Regions from separate parts of the Homo sapiens genome. Here region 2 is linked to region 1. Evidence: promoter capture Hi-C in 16 types of primary human blood cells and fetal thymus (Javierre and others, 2016). All regions are on one chromosome and are shown on one strand. Each heading gives the region's core, a stretch centred on a gene start or on the middle of the fragment in contact. The rest is flanking DNA. Distances are from core to core; before and after follow the strand shown.

What was found. The method cuts DNA at HindIII sites, captures the fragments that hold promoters and counts their contacts. A CHiCAGO score of 5 or more calls a contact.
Region 2: a fragment that was not itself captured here is called in contact with the fragment with the promoter of CCDC85C in region 1 in 1 of 17 cell types (non-activated CD4 T cells); the score reaches 5.7 in non-activated CD4 T cells.

The regions. Positions count from the first base shown.
Region 1 is chr14:99,601,297-99,605,456 of GRCh38, reverse strand. It overlaps CCDC85C (coiled-coil domain containing 85C), which reads left to right and starts at 1,250. Exons shown (of 6, transcript NM_001144995.2): 1 at 1,250-2,290. The coding sequence starts at 1,498. It also overlaps a transcript of HHIPL1 not described here. RefSeq lists silencers at 46-195, 376-445, 506-645, 786-1,315 and enhancers at 1,576-1,695, 2,402-3,055. The HindIII fragment of the contact is 18,022 bases long and covers 1-4,160 here.
Region 2 is chr14:99,485,844-99,489,840 of GRCh38, reverse strand. All of the region lies in intron 1 of CCNK (cyclin K), which reads right to left. It also overlaps a transcript of SETD3 not described here. Among named protein-coding and RNA genes, the nearest start is that of CCNK, 6.4 kb to the right of the region's middle. The HindIII fragment of the contact is 1,592 bases long and covers 1,297-2,888 here.

The DNA of each region.
Region 1 (4,160 bases), core at 1-2,500:
CGTGGGCCGCTCACTGTCGCGTGCGCGGATTTGATCTCGTTGCAGGTTCCGGGGGAGGGACCCCCCCCCGCCCCGCCCCGCCCCGCCTGCTGGCGGTAGACGCGCCGTAAATGCGCTTTGGGGACCGGAGGATAACGAGACAGACTTACAGGCAGTGGGAAGCCCGGGGGTCCCGCGAGGCCGCCGGTGGGGAGTTCTGTGGCCGGCTCGGCGCCCCCGGACCCCGGCGTTCAGGCCCCAGTGGGAGACCTTCCCACCCTTCCCAGTGGTTTCCACCCCGCGAATTGCAGATTATCTCCCGAATCCCAGGGATTTAGCGGTCGAGTGAGCGGAGGTGGAGCGGGGCTCCGAGCGCCGCTCCGGGCAGGGGGCAGGTTCCCGGAGCTCTCGCCCCATCGGGGCAGAGAGTACTGACCGCGCTGCGGGACGCGGCTGGCAAGGCCCTGGCCCTGCAGGGGCGCGGACGCCAGCGTTTAGCTCAGCCCTGGGCTAGGAGTGGAGACGCAGCCCCGCCGCGTGCTCCGGCAGGGGACCCGGGTGGGGACGGGGGCGGAGGAGCCTGGGGGCAGGGAAGGGGACAAAGAGCCGCCCTGCTGCGGGGAAGAGCGACCCCCATGTCACAGTCCTATTGTTCGCTGTGTCTCCGACTGCCCTGAACTCTGGTGCCCCCGGGAGGGAGAAGGGGCGCCGTCGCCCGGATCGTGGGTATTTGTTTATCTGGGGAGAGGGAAGAGGACCGGGGACGCGGGCCGGGGAGGGGGCTCGACTGCTATTTTCGCGCGTCGCCTTTAAGGGAAGCCCGGCCCTACCTTTCCCACCGTCCCCCTCCCCGCAGCCGTACCTGCATTTTAAAAGCGCCCTGTAGCCCTGGGATTGGCTAAGGCCGCGTCCTCCGGGCGCAGAAACTTGAACCGCCGGGAGCCGGCCGCGGGCGGGGGTCGGAAACCCCGCGGATGGACCGTACCACCGCCGCAGCTTCCCCCGCGCGCGCCCCGCCCCTCCCGCACACCCCCGGAGCGGCCCAATCGCCCGGCCGGGAGGGCGGGACCGCGGCCGGAACGCGCCTCTGAGAGGGCACTGGACGGGCGGGCGCACCGCGCAGGGGGACGGCGGGGGCCGCGCCTCTGCTCCCCAGTCGCCCTCGGGGGCGGGGCCGGGCCTCGGAGACCCGCCCACTCTCCGCCCGGGGTGGGCGGGGCGGCGGGGGCTCCGGGAGCTGGGCCGGGGGCGGGCCTCCGCCTGCTTCTCCAGAACCCTGAGAGCGCCCGGCACCGCGGCCGCCGACGCAGCAGCCGCCTCCGCTCGTCAACCCCGAGGCGCGCGGGCTCCCGGGCGGCCCCGGCGGGCGCGGCGAGAGGACGCGCCAGGCGGCGCGGGGCGGGCCGCACGCGCCCCCGGCCGCCCCCCGCCCGCGCGCGGACCGGCCCAGCGGAGCCCCGGCGCGGGGAAGCGCCGGCCGGGCGAGGGCGAGGGCGATGCCGCGGTGACGGCCCCGCCATGGCTAAGCCCGCGGCGACGGCGGCGGCGGCGTCGGAGGAGCTGAGCCAGGTGCCGGACGAGGAGCTGCTGCGCTGGAGCAAGGAGGAGCTGGCGCGGCGGCTGCGGCGCGCCGAGGGCGAGAAGGTGGGCCTCATGCTGGAGCACGGCGGCCTGATGCGCGACGTGAACCGGCGGCTGCAGCAGCACCTGCTGGAGATCCGCGGCCTCAAGGACGTGAACCAGCGGCTGCAGGACGACAACCAGGAGCTGCGCGAGCTCTGCTGCTTCCTCGACGACGACCGGCAGAAGGGGCGCAAGCTGGCGCGCGAGTGGCAGCGCTTCGGGCGCCACGCGGCCGGCGCCGTGTGGCACGAGGTGGCCCGCTCGCAGCAGAAGCTGCGCGAGCTCGAGGCGCGCCAGGAGGCCCTGCTGCGCGAGAACCTGGAGCTCAAGGAGCTGGTGCTGCTGCTGGACGAGGAGCGCGCGGCACTGGCGGCGACGGGGGCCGCAAGCGGTGGCGGCGGCGGCGGGGGCGGCGCCGGCTCCCGCAGCTCCATCGACAGCCAGGCCAGCCTGAGCGGGCCGCTGTCGGGTGGCGCGCCCGGCGCGGGGGCCCGCGACGTGGGCGACGGCAGCAGTACGTCCAGCGCGGGCAGCGGCGGCAGCCCCGACCACCACCACCACGTCCCACCCCCGCTGCTGCCCCCCGGGCCGCACAAGGCCCCCGACGGCAAGGCAGGAGCCACACGTCGGTCCCTGGACGACTTGTCGGCGCCGCCGCACCACCGCAGCATCCCCAACGGCCTGCACGGTAAGGACTACACGGGCCGGGCAGCGCGGGTCTCCCTGGCTGCAGCCCTTTTCCCAGGCTGCGGCGAGAGGAGGTGGTCCCTGGCTGTCCCACTCATGCGGCCGCCACTCCAGACTCCTCCAGCTGTCATGGATCCTGGGCCAGGGGATCCCGCACTCACCCAAAGTGGGGCTTTGGGCGGTGGTGGGCCGGTTCAGTGGTGGAGCGTCTTTTTGTCCAGCTCAGAACCTGCTGCCGGTCCGGTCCCAGAAAAGTTTCTAGCGGGTGTAGTTGCCAAAATTAGGGTCTGTCACTGCTGGGCTGGCGGTGGGCGCCTCATCCCAGCCTTGGAAATCCTTGCCTAGTAGCGGGAAGTTCTAAACAGCAAAGGATACAAGGCCCCTTGAGCGCAAGTGAATTTCCCCTCTTGCAGCAACAGGTGTCCTCCAAACCAAGCAGCGTCCACGTGTGTGCGGTGGCTGGAGTTCTGCAGTGGGGTGTGGGGATTGGGAAGGTGCACAGGCAGCCGCTTGAGACCCAGAGGCAGTTGGGGAGAGGCCTGGGGCTCAGAGCCTTTCTTGTTTGCCATAAATTCCGCCCTTCTAGTCCTGGGACCTTTCTCAGCCGAGACTCTAAGACTTTCCCGAGGGAGATGTATTTGGAACGGATTCTAGCTTTTCTCCTCTGTGTGCCTCAGTTTCTTTGTCTGTGAAATGGAGATGATGACCTCTGCCTCGTGGGTTTGAGGTGGAGATAAACCTTCTGAAGGGATTTATAAACTGTTGATCGCCTTACAGGAAGTGCCGTGGTCATCCGTGACCAGGGTGTGGGTGGGAGGAACTTTGGCCTCTGTCAGCTTCTGTCTTCTACGCCCATGTTACTGCTGCGCCCAGTGCAGAGGGTGGCCCCAGCTTGGGGCTGTGGGAGCTTGCAGCCTGCTCCCTCTCCCAGCCCCCTGCTCAGCCCTTCTGCTCCCTGCCAGCTTTCTCCTCCTCGCTGGTGGATCCGGGGCCTCCCTGTTCTTCCACGTTTTTTGGTAGCTTGGCTTCCAGTTCTGCTGGTAGTTGCAACTGCCTGAACTTTTTGCCTGAAGGTGGAGAATGAACAGCTCTTTCTGGTTCCCTTTAAAGCCTTTCCTAATTCAGAGAAAGTGTGTCTAAGCCTGCAATAACTGCCCTCCCCAGAACCCCTCAGCCTGAGCTGGGGAGGGACGTTTTCTCCTTAGTTTGGTGGCCAAGTGGCCTCTGCAGACGTGTTGGGGTGGGGGCTGGGGTGGGAGACATACCCATGGAGGTGGGGCAGGGGCAGTGCAGCATGTTTTTCCTTTATTTACCATCCTGAGCCTGTGGGTTCAAGGCAGGACTGGGTTTAGAGGGATATTTTGTTACTGATTAGCAATCTATGGCTACAACTCAGGTTTCTCTTTGTAACACTGTATCCACCCCCACCTCCCACCACAGGCTGCTTCAGGGCAGTGGGAGTAGCGCAAAGTTAGGTGGTTTAATTTGCTGGGGCTGTTCAGAGCACCTCAGCCCCTTTGATTTTGCCGTCCTGGGGGCTTTTGAGGGGTCAGTTATCTGGGCCTCGGTTTCCCTAAGTGCAGTCCAAAGAGCAGATTGCTGCAGTCTCGTGGCTGGAAAGTGAAATGTTTCTGGTTTTCAGCTGCGTCATCAATGACACTTGGCAAGAGTGCCTCTCTGCAGGACACTGGAGGGCTGGAGTGTTTAGAGCATACTTGCAGGAAAGGCTCTGTCGAGTTTTGGGCAAGGAGATGCGGCCCCAGTCTGGCTCAGCATGTCAGCTGCGACAGTGAATAATACAGGAGTGGAGGACTAGGCTACACTGAGTTTTCCACCCCACTGGGGGTCAGTGGGAGGTTGAAGTATAGGGT
Region 2 (3,997 bases), core at 843-3,342, 120 kb after region 1:
ATCATTATTTATTTTGTTGCTCAAATTATTCCAATGTGGCCATTAGGTGCTCTTTCAGCTTGACTCCCTGCAGAGTACTTTTATAACTTTGATGTTTGAATCATGTAAATATTTAACATACTCATACACTTAACTAAAAATAAAAAAGCAAATCCTAAAACTCAAACCAAATGGGCAACAAAATCACACAGAAACTTACTTCCAAGTAATTTCTGATATTGTTACATGCTTAGTGAGATATATTCTAAGGACAAAAATAACTGAAAAGAATTATTTATTTGTTTATTTATTTACTTACTTACTTATTTTAGAGTCAGAGTCTTGTTCTGTCACCCAGGCTATAAGTGCAGTGGCATGATCCTAGTTCACTGCAGCATCGAACTCCTGGCCTCAAGCGATCCTCCCGCCTAGCCTCCCAAAGTGCTAGGATTATGGGTATGAGCCACAGTGGCTGGCCCCAACGAAATTTTAAAACTTCATTAGTGTACTGTTAGTAGTGTCATTAATGTTGTAATTTTCAAACACATTTTTTTTTGCATGTTGTGGAATAAAGCAAATATGTAAATGCTAATGTTGTTAGGAACCAAGATTTTCAGTGCAAAGAAAACAAATGCACACATGCAGAAAACCAAATGTTAAGAAACAAATCTGTAATGTTAAACTTTAACTGAAGATATCAAAATAAATCATGGTTAAAAAAAAATATATATATATGTATCCCATTTCTGTCCTTTTCAAGTACCAAGAAGGAATGACACTCCTAATTCTGAAATCTTAACTTTTTCAATACCAATACCCTCTAAAAGGAAGCAGGTTTCTTTCCAGTCTGGGGTTGGAGCCTGCCTGGGATGTACTCAGACTAATCAAAGCTTATCAAAAGACATAGGACTGCTGAAGGAATGATTTGCTAGGGAAAAAAAAAAAAAAGACATAGGAGCCACCATGATGGGTGCCCACTGGACTAATCCAAGGTAATTTGAATAGCAAAAAGAAAAATAACTGTGGTTGATCATAAAATAGTGAACATACAATCCAAGTGTCCATAATATTAATACATATAGAGAATAATACTTTGCTAGCACTGATAACTACTGATAATAAAATGCTACTGATAATAAATGCGACTTTGCTAGCATGGATATTAACTACTGTAAAAAAAATACAGTTGATCCTTAACAAAATGATCACACTTGACATCACTAATAGGGTGAAAACCTGACATTACATGGCTTCTGATGTGATGCAATGTGAAATAAATATCACCTACCTATGTAGTATTCTTGTCCCCCAAAAGCTTAACCTAAATTTAAGCAAACTTTTGACCGAACTTCCAGTTTACAATAAATACTGGTGGTACAAGAGTAAGTGAAAAAAGCACAACATGGAAACTATCAGTCACATCCAGAAGGTGAGACACTCTACTCAACAACTGACCCGGTCTCTTCAAAACAGTGTTATGAAAAAACATTTTGAGAGACTGTCTTAGATTTAAAAAGGCTAAAGAGGGCTACAACAAAATGCAATGTGTGAACCTTGATTAGATCCTGCTTTTTTTTTTTTTTTAAAAAAAAGAAATTTCAAACAATTTGGAAAAATTTAAGTATAAATTGTATATTAGAGGGTATTAGGGAGGGAATTACTGTCAGTTAATTTTCTTTGGGGGTAATAATGATATTGTGATTACACAGGAGAATGACTTTATTCTTAGCAGATGAAGGCTGAAGTATTTTGGGTAAAGTGTCATGATGTCTGCAACCTACTTTCAAATGGTTCAGCTAAAACACAACCACACAGTAAACATGGCAAAAAACGAACATGTGTCCACAGGTAAATAAGTTGTCATTGCACTATTCTTTCATACAATAAAAAGTTGGGGAAAAAGTCAGATGAGACTGAATAGGAGACCAGGAGGACTCCTTATCTTCATCAATCCCTCGATAGCCAAGGAATACTTGCTTATGTGTGGGTACTGCTTTCATAAATTACAACACTGTGATTTGAATTATAGCATACAAAAAGAAAAGTGAACTAATTATAAGTGTATGGCTGATTGTTTTTCACAAAGTAAACACACCTGTGTTAACACTATTCAGTTGAGAAAGAGAACAGTACCAACATTCCAGAAGCTCTCTTCGTTCTTTCCTAGTGACTATCCTCCCAAAGATAACTATTCTGACCTCTATTTCCATCAATTTGTTTTGCCTGTTTTTGAAGGACTGTGCGATGACACAGTACCACTTTTACATTTGGTTTCTTCTGCTCAATATTAAGTTCATGGGATTCATTCCTGTTGTTGCATAAAGCAGTATTTGTTCATTCTCACTGCCGCAGAGCAGTGGTTTTTAAACCTGGGACAATTTTGCCCCCCAGGGGACATTTGGCAATGTCTGAAGACACTTCTGGTTTTCCTAACTGGGGGGTTGCCACTGGCATCTAGTGTGGGTAGAGGCCAGGAATGTTGCTGAATGTCCTCAGTGCACAGAACAATCCCCCATGACAAGAAATTATCTGGTCCAACATGTCAATAGTGCCAAAGCTGAGAAAGTCTGCTGTACAGTACAGTTATATCCTATGAATGCAACACACTTTATCTATACATTCTACTGTTTGGGCATGTAAATGTTTCTGGTGTTTGATTATTAATAAGTGTTAAACATGTACATATATTCTTATAGAACAGAAGGCAACTGGACAGTTGGCTGAGGGAATCAATATCTTAGCACATCTTAGCAATTTATTCACAGTTGGGAATTGCTACTTTAATATACATACGCCTAACAGTTTTCCATGTACTTTTTCATTTAAATATTTCCTGAGCATTTACTATGAGCCAGGCCTTAATGGCATGGCAGGGCACAAGATAAGTAAGGTCTTTGCCCCAGGAAGCTTACATTCTAGTGGGAGAGACAATAAGAAAGAAATATATGAATATTTGTCAGGGAATCTTAAGTGCCACAAATAATAACGCATGTAAGGGGAGAGAACATAATGAGGTAAGGGCTGTTTAGAGGTATGCAGAAAGAGGAAGAGTTAGGAGATTATAGTAGCAGTTCAAGTAATGCCTAATACACCTGTCTCCACACAATGGCAGCTGGAACAAGGGGTGTGTGTGTCATAATTGGCCATGAGGCAAAGAATGGAAAAAGATGATTTCAAGTTTGACTGACACAGAGGGTGATACTAAAAAGACAAATGGATAAGACAAGAGAAAAAGCTGGTTTTGATAAGGAGGGAGGAAAAGAATTTGGCTCTATAAATACTAAGCTTGAAGAACTTTAAGATCCTTTTGTGGAAATATCTATCAGACAGATAAATAGGCCAGTTGAAGTCTCTACAGAACATATCTACTTGGGGTTCATCTACACAGAGGTGATAACTATAAAGTCATGTTGACGGATGGAGGGATGGAGAGTGAAGAAGGAAGGGGTCTGGGTACAGAACTCTGTGAACTTGTACCAAGTAGGAAGAATCACCAAAGGCGAGCGTTTGCCCAGTGACAGGAAGGTAAAACAGACTTGAATGCACTTATGATTTACCCACTTGCAGACTAAGAATCACCAAATTAGAGAAAGGGAAAAAGACTGGTCCAAGAAGTAGGGAAATTTGCATCCTTTGTTGCAAAACAAACCATGGGATGTCAGCTTTAAACCAGAGATGGTAGTCAACAGTGACAAATGCTAAAGAAAAGTTAAAGGACAAGGAACTAAGGAAAGTTTACTTTAATTGGTGATTAGTTGTTTATTAGAGACACTGAAAATTGTGATGGTTTCATGACTCTGCAAATACTAAAAACGACTGATTTGTACAGTTTAAATGGGTAATTTGTACGGTATAGGATTATATTTCAAGAAAATACATATATACACATATAAATAAAATAACATTTTTAGAAGTGCAATAGGGCAGAAGGTGTAGAAACTGCAAGGGGTGGTAAAGAATGAACAGACTAGGAAATAGGTTATTCTTTTTTATTCATTTTTTAATTTTTTGAGACAGA